Regions from separate parts of the Homo sapiens genome. Here regions 2 and 3 are each linked to region 1. The links are contacts of gene promoters, found by promoter capture Hi-C in blood cells and fetal thymus (Javierre and others, 2016). All regions are on one chromosome and are shown on one strand. Each heading gives the region's core, a stretch centred on a gene start or on the middle of the fragment in contact. The rest is flanking DNA. Distances are from core to core; before and after follow the strand shown.

Evidence for each region. The method cuts DNA at HindIII sites, captures the fragments that hold promoters and counts their contacts. A CHiCAGO score of 5 or more calls a contact.
Region 2: a fragment that was not itself captured here is called in contact with the fragment with the promoter of PEAK1 in region 1 in 5 of 17 cell types (neutrophils, naive CD8 T cells, naive CD4 T cells and 2 more); the score reaches 9.6 in neutrophils.
Region 3: a contact is called between a fragment that was not itself captured here and the fragment with the promoter of PEAK1 in region 1, in 2 of 17 cell types (M0 macrophages and total B cells). The highest score is 5.7, in M0 macrophages.

Annotation. Positions count from the first base shown.
Region 1 is chr15:77,417,408-77,422,410 of GRCh38, reverse strand. It overlaps PEAK1 (pseudopodium enriched atypical kinase 1), which reads left to right and starts at 2,307. Exons shown (of 10, transcript NM_001385026.1): 1 at 2,307-2,405. It overlaps HMG20A (high mobility group 20A), which reads right to left and starts at 1,523. Exons shown (of 10, transcript NM_001304504.2): 1 at 1,407-1,523. RefSeq lists enhancers at 1,022-1,071, 1,462-1,511 and silencers at 1,962-2,281, 2,532-2,701, 2,712-2,921. The HindIII fragment of the contact is 8,449 bases long and covers 250-5,003 here.
Region 2 is chr15:76,999,055-77,004,057 of GRCh38, reverse strand. All of the region lies in intron 1 of PSTPIP1 (proline-serine-threonine phosphatase interacting protein 1), which reads right to left. Among named protein-coding and RNA genes, the nearest start is that of PSTPIP1, 6.4 kb to the right of the region's middle. The HindIII fragment of the contact is 8,762 bases long and covers 1-5,003 here.
Region 3 is chr15:77,117,408-77,122,410 of GRCh38, reverse strand. All of the region lies in intron 9 of PEAK1 (pseudopodium enriched atypical kinase 1), which reads left to right. Among named protein-coding and RNA genes, the nearest start is that of TSPAN3, 49 kb to the right of the region's middle. The HindIII fragment of the contact is 1,124 bases long and covers 2,186-3,309 here.

The sequences.
Region 1 (5,003 bases), core at 1,058-3,557:
CTCCTGACCTCGTGATCTGCCCGCCTAGGCCTCCCAAAGTGCTGTGATTACAGGCGTGACCAAACAGCTTTTTAAAAAAACTATTATAGAATTAAAATAATCGCAGAGTCTGAGGCTAGATTAAGTACAATCCCAAAAGAAAAAGTACACAGGCCTTATTACTTCAAAAATTCTTGCAAGACAATACAGTTCTAGGTTCACTGATATATATACTAAAATTACTAACATTCAGATTTCACAAAGTAAGCTTCAAATAGATTGATTCCTTCAATACACAGACACACACCCTTCTAAGTATTGTGTTATCTGACAACAGAACCAAGGAATCAAAATTATTGAGTGTTTATTACCGCCTCACATATAGTTTATTAAAAATGAGCTACTGAAAACCAGAAAGTTCTTATTGACCTTTTGTCCTTTGTGAGCCAACTTTTTCCTGTTTAGAATCTGAGCTGAGTCTCATGACCCTTGCTTTATACTTTAAAACCACAAAGAACAGATACCATTTAAAAATCAGTGATGAATTAAATTACAAAGGAGGAAAATGTAATAAAATACAACTTTCAAAAATGTTACGTGTAAGCTACACATAAGAATTTTTAAGGCTGAAGAAGCTGTTCTCAGGCACAGGGCAAAACCTGTAGCCCAAAATCAACAGTCCTAATAATTTAAGATGTCAATTTTATCAGTTAAGGTAACCTCAAATTTGAGTACTTCAGTGTGATACTTTCATTCTGCTAAGATGAAAATGCCCCAGATTTTATGTAAAATATTCAGTCCCCTAAATAAAAAGTTATCTCCTTAAAAGAGAAGCTAGATTTCCTGTTGCATGTCAAGGCAGAGGGCACCACACTTCACCCAGCCAAGGCTGGACTTGAGTAGGGGTGCAGGTGTTGGCAATTCATCAGTCACACAAGCTATGTCGTCTTGCAAAGGTGCATAGAGATTTTTAACAAGGGCTTTCGAATTCTTTGAAGAAAACACAGACAATTTTGCTGGGGAGGAAATGCTCCATATTCCACGTGGAAGCAAACTCATAAATTCTGACTGCAGGTTGGTGTTCAGCACAACTTGGAATAATCTAACTTTTCACATAAAACACAATCCCCAAGCTGCAAGATAATGTCTCCGCGAATGGCACCAAGCACCACCTTTTCAAGCCCTCATCAGCACTGGAAGTGGGTCGGACACCCCCAAACCATCACCACCCCCCCACAGGAAGTGAGGGTGTCCCCCCTCCCCAGGACGGCCTTCCTCCCCTCCCCCAACCGGAAGTTGAGGCGCCCCCATTCAGCCGGCCTCCAACTGAGACAAACCAGTACCACCACCACCAAAAGAGGGGTGATCTTCAAGGGGTGAAGGGCATCTCGACTGGGGCCACCCCCAAGCTCGCCTTGCTTACTGACCTGCTGACGACAGGGGCAGGAAGGGGCCTAGGGCCAAAAGAAAGTCCCTTCCACAGAGGACAATTCCCTCAGCCCCTCTCAATCGCCTTCACTTCACGCACTCGTCGTCTCACAGCTGGACAAAAATTCTTCCGCAGCACTTTATTTTGGTGTCCTTTCCTTTTCTTTACCTAATCTCTTAACCACCTTTCCACAGGTAACTCCTCTTACCGCATAGCATTTACAATTGCTCCGGTGAGAAGAAAAATGAAATATTTTCCACGGTACCTTCACAAAAATGAAGGGATTATTTTGCCCCAATGCGGCGAAGGACTACGTGGTTACGCAAGGTGAGCCTTATTTTCGTGGAGGTTTCTGGGAGATGTAGTTTTTTTTTTTTTATTGCGAAGGCCCGCAGAAAGTAGAAGAACTGAAATTGGTCATGACTACATATTAGCGTCCTCGAAAACATATTCTGTATTCGATGACGGCTGACCTAGCGGGCCCCGACGCCCAAATGGGCCCAGACTCCCCTGGTCTTTTCCTCTGCGGCTTAATCGAACCCAAATTTTCCCTCACGCGGGCCCAAGGTCTCGGCAGCCCCGCCCCTTGTCTTAGCCCCGCCCTCCGCAGCCAATCAGGCACCCTTTAGGTCTCGTCCTCTGGAGGTTGGAAGGCAGAGAGGAGGGGCCTGGCGGTGACTCCTCCCGCTGGGGCTGAGGGAGACCTGGGAGACGACCGGGGCCCGTGAGCGCGCGCGTGCTCACGGCTCCAGGAGCGCGGCGAGCGGGCGAGGGCGCGCGCGGAGGGGCGGCGCGCGGGGCCGAGAGGAGGCGGGCAGGCTGGTGGGCTGGGCGGGCGGCGAGCGGCCGGGAGCGCGCGGTGGACTCGGCCGCGGCGAGTAGTTAGTTAGTTGTTGTTAGTCAGTGTCAGTTGCTCGGCGGCGGCGGCCGTGGTCACCAGGAAGGGGACGGGACGGACGGTGATGGTGGTCGCCGCGGCGGCGTGTGCGCCCCTCAGGTAACAGCGGCCCGGCTGTCCGCGTCCGCTCGGTTGTCTTCTACTCACGCGCCGTCTGTGGGACCAGGGTTGCCGCGGGTTGAGGGCGCTGACCCGGGGGAATCCGGGCGGGGCGGCGCGGGTTCTGGGTGGCGGCGCGGGTTCTGGGTGGCGCCGCCGCCGGGGCTCTGGCGGCCGGTGCGTCCCGCCCGGCGCGGGCTCTAGCTCCCCGGCCACCCCCGCGCCCCGCCGGTGCCGCGCGCCCCCTGCCGCCCCTGCCCCCTCCCTCGGCGGCGGCCCCGGGAGCGCGACGCCCCCCAGAGGAAGGAAAGTTGGGACCTGCCGCGAGGGACGCCCCCGGGCGCGGCTGGGAGGTTGCGGGGGAAAGTGAAGCCTGGAGGAGCTGGACGCGGGGAGGCCGGGGCAGGAGGGGCTTCTCTGGCTCCTGCCGGGTCCACACGGTCAGCCCGCTCCCGCACCCGGGAGCATCGGCGCAGCCTCGCCGGCAGCGTCGGGACGGAGCCGGGTGGCTCCCTGCCTGCTCCCTTCGCGCCGCGGCTGGGGAGCCCGCGAACGTGTGGGCTGGCGGGGTCGTTTGGGGGTTGTGAGTGGTTCGGCTGCTCAGTTTTTTTCTTTTCTGCCCTTTGACCCATCCGTTCTTGCAACTTTTCTTTCCTCCTTCGATGGGGACTTGCCGTCTGAACCGCGTCTGCCCCCTCCCCTCTCGTCGCATGCACCATCCGTCTGGGAGCTTGATTTCGTTTTTTCCTCCTTTGGCTACGTTAAAGATTGCTGAGAGCACCGGGAGAGACCCTCCTCCCCCGCCTGCCTCTGGCCTGTTAAATGTTACTTTTTGCGATTCGTTGTTTTTTAAAGATCCAAGTTCAGGAATTTGAGAGCTGTGGAATGGAGTTATTGGAAGGCTGACGTTGAGGGGGTAGTGATGAGTTAGAGGAAAACTATGATTTCATCTTTATTGGCCTTGCTATAGAAAACCTAATTGATTTTTTTTCTGCCTCTGTTGAATGTGGTAAGATCATACGTTGAATTAAATACTTAGAGACTTACATAAAAGACTATTTTTAGGTCATTGGATGATGTACGTGAACAGCTTTTCACCTGAATTGGGATTGCCTTGAGGATTCTGTTTTGGGGCCTACTTACTGATTTTTGTTCAGCCACAGCGTCTTTTTTTTTCCCCCGATAAATGAAGTGATGTAGTGATGTGTATAGTCAGAGAACCCATATTGCTCTCTGCAGTGTGGAAGTGAAAAACGTGAATTATCCACCGGGGTAAAACTTTCCATGAGCAATCTTGGATACTCACTTCATGATGGCTTCTCTCGTAATCTCAGAGCATTTCTAGATAGCTCAATTCACTGACGACCCTAATTACTTTCTGACTTGCCTGGGACTTCTCTTTGGTGACTTATTTAGTAAACTGTAATGGCAGATATGGTACATTTTCTTGGCTTCAAAGTTGAGGGTTATAGCCTCAGCCCAGAGATGAACAATGGAAGTAGAAGTCATAGCATTGCTAGTGAATTTTGGATATGACCAACTCACAAACTATGTGAAAAAACAAACATCCCCTTTTCATTGCTGTCGGGGGGGAAAGGGAAATATTTTATCATGTCTTTATTTTGGATTCTCTAACATGACTACATTATGTGGGAAAAAATGTCAAATTATTTTCTTTAAGGCTTTTTAATGTATGTTCCTTCTTTTCCCTCACTACCCCCCATCTCCTGTCCCAACTTAGAGGCTAAAATTTATGTGTGGCTGTGTTCTAGGGTTGGAAGAGAAGTGTTTTGGTGAAAGAAAAAGATAAGATCACTTTGAACTATTATGATACCTCAACTATTCGTTTTATCCAGTTGATAGTATACAGAAACTTTCACAATAATGTTTGTAGCCTATTAACATTCAAAATTCATTTTTAAGAGTCTACCCTGAAGGCCCATGAAGAAATAATGCCACTTCATAACTGTTTGCCGACAATCACATTAAAAAATATGTTCCTGGAATGCATTATACGTGTACTCATATAAACATTTATCTTTGTACATTTATGGTAATGTAAATATTTAAGTCTGAGAGCTTAAAAACTTTTATTTGCTTATTTGCATACATGTTTTTCAACATCTAGCAGTGCCAACCATATTTGCCAAATAAGCATCAGCTATAAATTCATGCTTTGGCACATTTCATATAATAACTCTTCTAAATTGTTCCGTGGTGAAGCATCATGAGATTAGCATTTGCTTCATGAGAGAGATTTGTTGTTCTTTTTAACTGTACTGATGTGCTGTTTAAGTGGAACGGGTGCTGGGCCCTAGCCATTTGTGTTGATACCTGCCAAATCATACCCTTTTGTTGGATGGGTTGTTTAAGTAATTTAGTAACCAAACTGTGGCCCCTGGCATGCCAAGTGTGAGTACAAGGCTCCATATCAGTGTTGCAAATCCCTGTTTTCAGTGTAAGAGGCAGATGTGTGTGATGAGCGTTATTCTGTCATTTGCTGATCTCTTTACTGTGATTCCTACCTCTTGCCCCCCTCCCCCCCCGCCCCGCATCCCCCCACCCCACTCTCCTTCCTAGTCCTTTCATTACTAAAGC
Region 2 (5,003 bases), core at 652-3,151, 420 kb after region 1:
ACATAGATCATCTTGTTACTTGAAACCAAAGGAATGATTCTCTAATGGTGGAGTATAACATGCAATGGTGAACATGATTGGAGGAGGCATTCTGAAACAGCAAGATCTATGTATAAGGCTCACCCTATGGGTGCATATCCAATTATAAATCTGGGTCCCCTGGGAACTGTTCCTGGTCTGCTACTCCACTGTGGTGAGCAGGAGGTGGTCCCTTAGCACTGCCCTGAGCCGCCCCAACCTCAAAGCCCTTATCTTAAGTGATGACGACCCTGACATCCTGCAGATGAGGAAACTGAGGTTCAGAAAGGGAAAATGATTCTCCAAGGCCACCTAGCAAGTGTGGGTGAGGGTTGGGTGAGGCTTCAAAGAAGCCCGCTTCCTTCTTCTTCTTTTTTTTTTTTTGAGACGGAGTTTCGTTCTTTTGCCCAGGCTGGAGTGCAATTGTGAAACCTCAGCTCACTGCAACCTCCACCTCCTGGGTTCAAGCGATTCTCCTGCCTCAGCCTCCTGAGTAGCTGGGATTACAGGCATGCGCCACCATGCCCCGCTAATTTTTTTGTAGTTTTAGTAGAGACAGGGTTTCACCATGGTGGCCAGGCTGGTCTCGAACCCCTGACCTCAGATGATCCACCCGCCTCGGCCTCCCAAGAAGCCGATTTCCTTCTAAGCCTGGAGGATGGAGCATGACTGAGTCTGTGAGGGAGGAACCTTCCAGAGCCAACCCAGAGGAGAGTCCTGGTGTGGGCAGCCCAGGGCCCAGGGCATCATGCTCTCTAGCTGGAAGCAGAGGCAGTCTTGGTTTCCACCCAAAGTTCCCTCCATCATGTGGTTTGCAGCGTCAGCCAGGCTCTGGGTGAGGAGGAAGGGCATCCCACTCACAGCCCGCAGCCTCTGTCCTCTTTTGCATGAGAGGAAACAGCCACCACCAGAGAGGGTGCAGAGAGGCAGAAGAAAGTATCTCTGCCACCACTTAGGGCAGAGACCTTTCACAATCCAGCTCGTGCCTTCCCTTCCTACCAGTCACCTTGCACAATGCTCTGGGCCAGAAAACTGTCTTCCAAACCCCCTTCCACACCTTTGCCCATGCCGTACCTCCCACCTTGAGTGCCGTTTGTCCTCCTGACATGTCTCAAATCCTCACCCACCCTTCAAAGCCCAAAGCAAGGCCCTCCTTCTCCATCCCAGGGGCTGCCCTAGTTCTGTGTAGATGTCAGGAGCAGCCAGGAAAAGCATGTGGGTTCCAGGGGACTGGAGCACAAAGTGGGTCATCAAGAAGCAGATCTTGTTTTTTATCAAGAATAAAATTGAATTCAGAACACCAAATCGACCCAGAACCCTGCAGCCAGCAAATCCTGGCAGTGACCATCTGCAGGCATCGCAAAAGCAAAGCAAGCATGACCACAAACCTCTGCAATCTTCTAACACCTGAGCAGCCGGCCACGTCCTGTGGAATGGGCACAGATGAACGAAGTTCTTGGTCCCCAGAGGCCCACGTACCACAAAATATGCACCGAGCATGTGGAAAAGGGCATGCTAGCAAACCACAAATTTGGCCTAGAAACACCAACTCATTCTTGAAAGCAGGAATTGCTTAGTTTTCTTTTTAAATATTTTCTTTTTAATGACAAAGGTACTCTGTATTGACTTGCAGAAAATTAGATGGGGGATGGAGAGAATCCTACTTCCAAATCCATAGACACCAGTGTTAACATGTAGGGAAGCATCCTTTCATCCTACACAAATTAAAGTAGAAGCAAGAACAAACTCTCTAGAATTCAGGGCAGAGGGCAATAGAGTTCGACAGACCTAGGTGGGAGTCCCTGCTCTACCCTGCACAGGTGACCCTCGTCTGGGCCTAGACCTGCCGTGCCTTAGGTCCCATCACAGAGTCAGGAAGACACTGACAATGCGTTTGGGGGCATGTGGACTGAATGGCAGCATGCCTGGCATGGAACAGGCACTCAGCAAATGGCAGCATTGCTGCTCCTCAGGGGATGATGTAAGTAGCTGGGATTCAGGGAAAAATTCTTCATGGGACTTGAAATAAATGTCCTCTTTTTCATTTTTAATTGTTTGATTTAATTTTTGAATAATTAATACATTCATATGGTTCAAAAATCAAACAGTATAAAAACATCAATCCTGAAAACGTTCACAGCCGCTCAGCCTCATCCCTCATCCATCTCCTTTCTCTCATTCTCCCAACAGGCAACCACTTTAATTAGCTCCCTGTGCATCCGTCCACAGATTTTTGTTGTTAATACTACAAGCCTGCGCCAGTATAAATGCTTATTTCCCCACTTTTCACAACGGGTTGCCGACCAGGTGCACTGCCAGGCTCTCTGCTTTTTACAGGGAACACCAGGTCTTAAAGAGCTTTCCCAATCAGGAAAGGGAGAGCCTCCGTCCTCACTGCTTCTGACAGATGCAGCCAGGCAGGTGCCGGGAAGGTACTTGGTGGCAGCAAAGGCAGGATGGCCAGGGCCTCTCTCTCCCACCTCCTGCACTGTCTGCAAGCTCTGAGTGCACCAGGGCCACTCCTCAGCCACTGGCCTCCTTGGCCCTCAAAGCCACAGCAGTTTGCTGGGCTGCAAGGCCTTCCACAAAGTCAGTGCAGGCTCTGGTTTCCAGCAGGGCCCCATCCACAGGCCCTGACCCTTCCAGGCCATTCTGGGGTCCCTCCTTCCTGTGTGAAAAAGCTCCTGCCCAACCAGAGGACTATGGGGGATCCCAAAGTGACTGCTAGTACCCATGGCTGGAGAACTGGCCCCACTCTTTCACCCAGAAATGCCTCCTTCCCTGGAAAATAGCCATTAGCCTCCTCTGCCCAAAGAAATAATCCCCAAGTGAAAAACCTTTATAGTCAAAGATCTACCCATGGTGTCACTGTCCAGAATAATAAATAATTGGCAGTAACCTAAATGTTCAGCAGTGGAGGACTGGGCAAAAAAAATCACAGCATGGTCACCAAATTCACAAGCTAGAGAACTGTGCAGCCATGAACAGTGGTGTTGCTGAAAATGAGGAACCCATGTCCACACCCACAGGTGTTCCCGATGGAGTGAGTTACGCTAAAAAAAGGGGAGGGTGGCAAAGTGTGAACAAACCTAGCGCTACTGAACCATACACCACAAAAATGGTTAAGATGGTACATTTTATGTGTATTTCGCTACAATTTAAAATAAAATTTAAAATACTAGAAAAAAAAAGGAGGGAGGGCCGTGCATGGTGGCTCACGCCTGTAATCCCAGCACTCTGGAAGCCAAGGCAGGAGGATTGCTTGAGCCCAAGAGTTTGAGACCAGCCTGGGCAACACAGGGAGACCTCATCTCTGCAAAAATAAAAAATTTGTAAAAGAAAGGGAAAATACAAAATTATGTACACAATATGCTTGCACCTATGTAAGGCAATCTTATGCAAACACAGCATAATATTAGCAGTTGTGTGATGAGACTAAAGGTGCTTCTTCTTTTCCTATTTTTCTCCATTTCCCCACTTTCCTTTTAGGATCTTATATTAGTTGATTTTGTTTCTTTAGAAAGTGTGTGTGTGTATGTGTGTGTGTGTGTGTGTGTGTGTGTATATATATATATATATCTCTCTTTAAATGCCCAGGATGGAACAGGTGCCCAGCAAATGTCAGGCTCTCCTGATGCCCCTGGGCCATGGTAGACAGGTCTGGGGGTAGGGACAGGCAGCTTTATGACAGATCAGAGTAGGGCCCCTCAGTCCCCTTCTCTGTAGCCTCATAAATGGGCACCTCAGCATCTCAGAACTGGGAAGGGAAAAGGCACCAGTGGCTGAGTGCCACATAGGGAAGGGGCAGACCAGCCCAGCTGGTCCCACTGTGTGAAGCTGGTGAGTCACTGCCCCACTCGGCAGCGGTGCTGTCACCTGTTAAATGGGCTTGGGGAGGCTCAGCTCCTCCCAGTGTGGCACAGGGGTTTCTAGATAGAGCCAGAGCCCAGCCTCAAAGGAGAGATACACCCACATGTCAAGGGGAAAGTTCAGGCCTATTGTCCCCATACCCCCTTGGTGGTTCCCACCCAAAGGGTGGGTGACAGTCACTGCAGTGCATGTGACCCAGCCTCCCCAGGTCCTTACTTTTCCTTTTAACTACCCTAAAAGGAATAGGATGTGGATCTCAATAGAATCTGGTCCAGAACTAGATTTTCCCTCTTAAAACAATATCTAATGACATCTTTGCAAAGGCCATTGGATAGACATACAGGTTGCGGGGGATGGGGGACCTGGGAGAGGATGGCACAGTTGAGATACTGCTCCTCTCAGAGCACTCCTTGCCTGACCCAGTTATTCCTCCAGCCCCGGCACTGAACTATGGCTTCCTTCAGGTCAAGACAGTTTCATTCATCTGATTAGATGTTGCAGGGTGAAGAAGCTCAGGGGTCCAGCGTGGACCACCTAGTAGACAGCCCTACTCACCAAATATTTGCAGAATATAACAAAAGTGAAATGTAGTGCTGGGCGCGGCGGCTCACGCCTGTAATCCCAGCACTTTGGAAGGCTGAGGCGGGTGGATCATCTGAGGTCAGGAGTTCGAGACCAGCCAGGCCAACATGGTGAAATCTCATCTGTACTAAAAATACAAAAATTAGACAGACGTGGCGGCGCACGTCTGTAATCCCAGCTACTCGGGAGGCTGAGACAGGAGAATCACCTGACCCCAGGAGGCGGAGGTTGCAGTGAGCTGAGATTGTGCCACTGCCCTCCAGCCTGGGTGACAGAGTAAGATTCTTTCTCAAAAAAAAAAAAAAGTGAAATGAAGTAAAAAATGGGTTCAGGAAGGGAGATGGACCATGGAGACATTCACTGTCCATTCATTTATTCTATGAACACGTCCTCAGCCAGTACCCCACTTGTCAGCCCTGTGCAGAGGATACAGACAGACATTTCTTGCAATAATTTGGCCACCTGCTGGGAGTGGAGCCACGACAAACTGGGGGCAGGGGGAGGACCCTTCCTTCTCTGGGCTTCCCAGCGCC
Region 3 (5,003 bases), core at 1,498-3,997, 300 kb after region 1:
TGGCTCAGGAACACAAGTTATTTTCATTGGATACACATGCTGAGTGGGAGAGTGAAAAGCTTTGGTGAGTACAAGTCACAAATAAAATGGTGAAATCTTACACAGTTACCTTCTTGAATTTCTCTTCTAGGATCCAAAATCACTTTCTTGGGCATGTGAACATTTTTGCAGCAATTCAAGCTGTAAATTATCTGGCCTACCCAACAGTTCTCATAGCAGATTCCTACAACATGGAGTCCTGAGTACTTTGGGCCCACACAGCGTTTTATATATTAAACACTTAATCTATTTTGAATATAGTTGTAACAGCATTGAGTGTGTGTGGGTCTTAGCTCTGTAGCAGCAAGTATAGCAATACTCCTCCTAGGCAGATCAAGGAATTGAGGTCAATCACTGATCAGCCTGTATTCTTAGAGTGGGATTATACCAAATACTGGATATCAATTTAGAAGTTGCAGGGTTTCATTCTATGCTCACTCCCATTTGCAGTTGTACTTTTGTGTGATATGACAAAATGGCACAGATGGTGTAATGTGTATGATTGTTAATGTTTCTCATTTTTGTCCCTCCACAATTCATTCCCTATAGCATCCATCTCACTTAAGGTTCACTGAGGCACTATAGAATGCATAGAGTGAGATGGAAATGAGATTCCCTGCTGATAAACTGGAAGTAGGCTGAAGGCATACTGGGCCCATAATGGAAAAATCAGAGCTAATGTAGAATATTTTTGAAGAGTCTTATATTTTGTAATTATTGCTTTCTTTGGGGCAAAGGAGAGAAAATTGAATCGAATGACAGAGAGCCATGTTGTTTTGTAGTTTTGTGCAGTACAAAATCAGCAAGCCCCCAGGGCAGCCTGGACTCAACAGACAGCCCTCACTGATCAGATTTCACTCATTTGTGTAGTCAGGTCATTCATGAGTGTTTATTATTCAGGTTTATCTGCCGTTGCCCCCACCCCATCACCTTGCCAACTTTTATCTGTTTCATAAAAGCTGTTCATATATTCTACCTGTTCCGAGTAAATAAGCCCTATGGCAGCACTGGATCAGATGCTGCCTTTTCTCAGAATCTTTTACAGACATATGGAGCAAGTACTACGTGCCTTGCTCTGTGCTAGGCCCTAAAGATACAAGTATCTGCTTGTAAGATAGACAAAAAAATGTCAGAGGAGGGAGGAAAGGGGACAAGGGTTGCAAAACTGTTGGGTACTGTGTTCAGTACCTGGGTGATGGGATCAGTTGTACCTCAAACCTCAGCATCATGAGATATACCCAGGTAGCAAACCTGCACATGTACCCCCTGAATCTAAAATAAAATTGAAAAAAATTATAAAAAACAAAAATTTTTTAAAGATAAAAAATGTGATAACTGCAATAATAGAGATATGTACAAGATATAGAAGTAACACAGAAAGGGGGTTTAGGGTATTTAGCACTTCCTCTCTCTGATAAAGTAATGCCTGAGAAGGGCTTTAAAAGAAGTAGGAATCCCTCAGGCAGATGAGGGGTGACAAGGAGCCCCAAACTGAGAGAACACCTGGAGGGTAGAGTGGGTGGCCGGCTGCAGATAGCTCAATATAGTAAGAGCAAATGGAACACAGGTGGGAAGTAGGACTGGAAAGGGAGGCAAGGCCAGGACTTTCTCCTATGAGGATAAAGCGGAGCCGCTAGGAAATTTAAATAAGGAGGAAATACCAGCTGTTGTTTTTTAATGGCTCTGTAGCCATGTGGAAGATGTATTCGAGGGGATCACATTAGAGGCAGGCAGACCAGTTGGAAAGCTTTTGTGGTTGTCCAGGCAAGTGATGAAGGTAGCAATAGAGATGGAGAAAAGAGGATAATTTGAAAGTTATTTAGAAGAAAAGTCAATGAGAGTTGATAATTAATTAGCCATAGGGAGTGAAGATGCAGGAGAAATCCAAAGTGAATTTGGTTTCTCATCCAGGTAACAAAGCCATTCATCAAGAGAGGGAGTACTGGGAAAGCAGTGAGTTTGGTGGGACGGAGAGTTCAGGTTTGGTTATGTTGAGTTTAAGTAATCTATGGGTTAGGACATATATGGGAAGAAATCAAGTAGGTCATTGTATAGATGAGCCTAAAGCCCAAAGACAAGGGTGCGTTACAAATGTAGACACGGAAGTCAGTAGTGTATATGACATGGTTGAAGCTATGAGCAAGCTTGCGGAAGAGAGTTTGTCAATGAAAAACTAGGATGGAGAGCAGGCACTCCAAACACCAGCACTTCACGGAACCTTTGGGAAAAAGGGTCAATGAAGAAGAATGAGTAACACCATGCCATTCAACGACAGATTAATTCCATAGTCATATCATCCAGTTTTGCACAGGTCCACCTTTCCCCCTATCCCTCTGACTTAGTTGCCTTAAACAGAGTATCTGTTGTTGAGAGAGCATCAAGAGGTATGTCCTCTCACAGGTCCCAGGCTTTGTGATCATTCTGAAAGGTTCAGTAGTGTTAGACAGCACTATCTTCTCCCCAGCTATTTTTAATGGGACTTTACAGTCAAAGCCCCTGATGGTCTACTTTTTAGAAGTTAGCTCTCTAGGTTGAAGTTATTACAAACATAAATGCTTTTTAATGACAAATTTGCCTTAAAGGTATGCAGGGCAGTTGTCATGAGCAACATGGAAAATGAGCCCCTGAACTGAAATGTATGTTTGGAATTAAACTTTTCAGGTTGTGCATGATGAATCATTTTCAAGCTCTGTTTCCCTGCTAAGATTGTAAATGTTGGGTTCTTTGACCCGAGTCTGAGAAGGTCTCAGGAGAGGGTAATTTGGCTATGATTCTGGAAGACAATATGTTGTTTCCCCTCTCCCCCAGTTTTCCAACAGATGATTTATCAGTGGTTAAAGGGTCCCCACCCTCTGTATTTAGGAATCTGGTCAGAATGCTTCAGGATGCTGTGTCTTACAGATGGGAAGTGCTCAGGAGCCATGAGATACTTGTTTGAATGATCAATTGATAATGAATTAATATTTTTCCCTTCTCTGTCCTCACTGATCTTTATTAACCCAGACAAGCAGCCAGTTTCCCTTCAAGCCTCTGTTTTTGCAACTGTAGGTTATTCATGTTGGTGCATATGTATATACCAGCTGACTGGCTGTCCCTTTTGATGTTCCTCTGACTCCTTTGGAGAATAGCTCAAGCGGGCATTTCCTGTGAGCTGGCAAGTGGGCGAGGGTCACTGTGCCCAGGATGGGCTTCTCTTCCTGTCTGTGCTCTTCACACGAGGAGTTCCCTTGGCATGCATTTGGTATTGCCAGCATCATAGAAGCAAAAGCTTATCCAGAAAGAGGCCCTATGGTGTATTTTACAAGAAGATTCAACCTTCAGCAGCCTGGTTTTGTTCTCCTGCTGCACAGTTTATAAGTAAATGACTCCTGGATATTGATATTGCAGCTCCCTCTAGTGTCACTGTGGCTCAGGCTCTCATAGCATTTTTTCTTGCCTTTCAGAAAATATAGACAGCACAGAATCTGCCAAATTCACAGCATTTTAAGTAGATTTTCCCAAACATAGCCAAGGCAAATATGAGGTGATTTTTCCCCTATTAGAAAAGGGAATGTTTAATGAAGATGTAGGACCATTCCAGTTCTAGTTTATTTTTATTCCTATTTTTAAATTTTGGGGGTCCTAGGAGGAGTCCTGAAGTAATCATTTATAGATTAAAGAGTAGCTGGCATGAACAAGTAGAATCTTTCTTGAGATTCCTCCTGCTACTCTTGAGATGCCAGCTACTCTTTATAAAGAAGGAATGTGAATTCTTTTCAAGAAAGATAATGAGAGCCAAGAAGAAGTTACTTTAATCCCTGGTAGAGAAAATACTGGGTAAGGGCAGAAGGAAAAAATTTGACAGGAAGAACCCTATCCATTTGTTCTGAAAAATTGGTTTGTTTTCTGAAATAACTTTTGAACTAGAAATTTGTTATCTGAAGTCAGGTCATTTTGAGGTTTTTTTTTTAACTAAAGGAGTTATTAATATTTGAAAAATGGCTACAATGTGGTACCTAGAATAATATAATACTCCTACCTAAATTAACATCATTGCAGGCTCCATAATAAAGATTTATGAGATACCCATCAAGCAAAATCCTATTATGGAAATCTCCATTGGTCTGTGTTTGGGTTGTAACTGTTTTCAGGGTTATGAACCAAGTAAAATCACTCTTTTTCCCTCCTCTTTTACACTCTAGTCTTCTCCCTTTTGCCTTTGCTCTTAAAGCTAGAGTGACTCATTATTCTTCAACCTGTCTATGTATTATAAAATGAAGAGATAAGGAAGTGCTGCCCACTCAGGTTATCTATCTAGGGAGACCATTTTCCTTTAGAGCATCCAAAATCGTGAAACAATTTATCATTTCTTCTTCGTAAATCACTTTGATCCTTTATCTCAAGTAGATCTGTGAAGCTAAACATAAATTCTTATTGTAGTATCCACATTCTTGTCTACTCACAAAGCTCTGGAGGACCTTATAAAAATGTGTGTGTCTGTGTGAATGTCTAGATATAATTAGAATATCACAATTAAAATACGAGTCACAATTAGAATACCTTCTCTGCTTCTAATATTAAACTACAAGGTCACAGTTTTTTTTTTCAGCCTGACTTGACATAGTTAAAAACTAGACTTGGCCAAACAATTCTCTCTCATAGCTTTAGGTTGCCCTGTCTTGGATTCTAACATACTGCTGGTGTTAACTTGTTTGTCAGGGCTGACCCTGGCTTGGAGGTATTGAATGTTAGCAGTTTCTTTTTGTCTGTCCTCTATCAAATTTGTGATCAGAGAGCCTCACTGCTGTGGCAGGTGGCTGTCGGGACTCAAAATAAAGATCTATTTTTCTGTTTTGCTCATTGTTTCAAAAAATTAGGATTCTCTAAGATTGCATTAGTTTGACATTTGCAAGTTGTTAACTGCTTTAGTCATTATCAGTGTTGCATTTGTACAACTTTGTAGTTTACAGATGTACGCTATATAC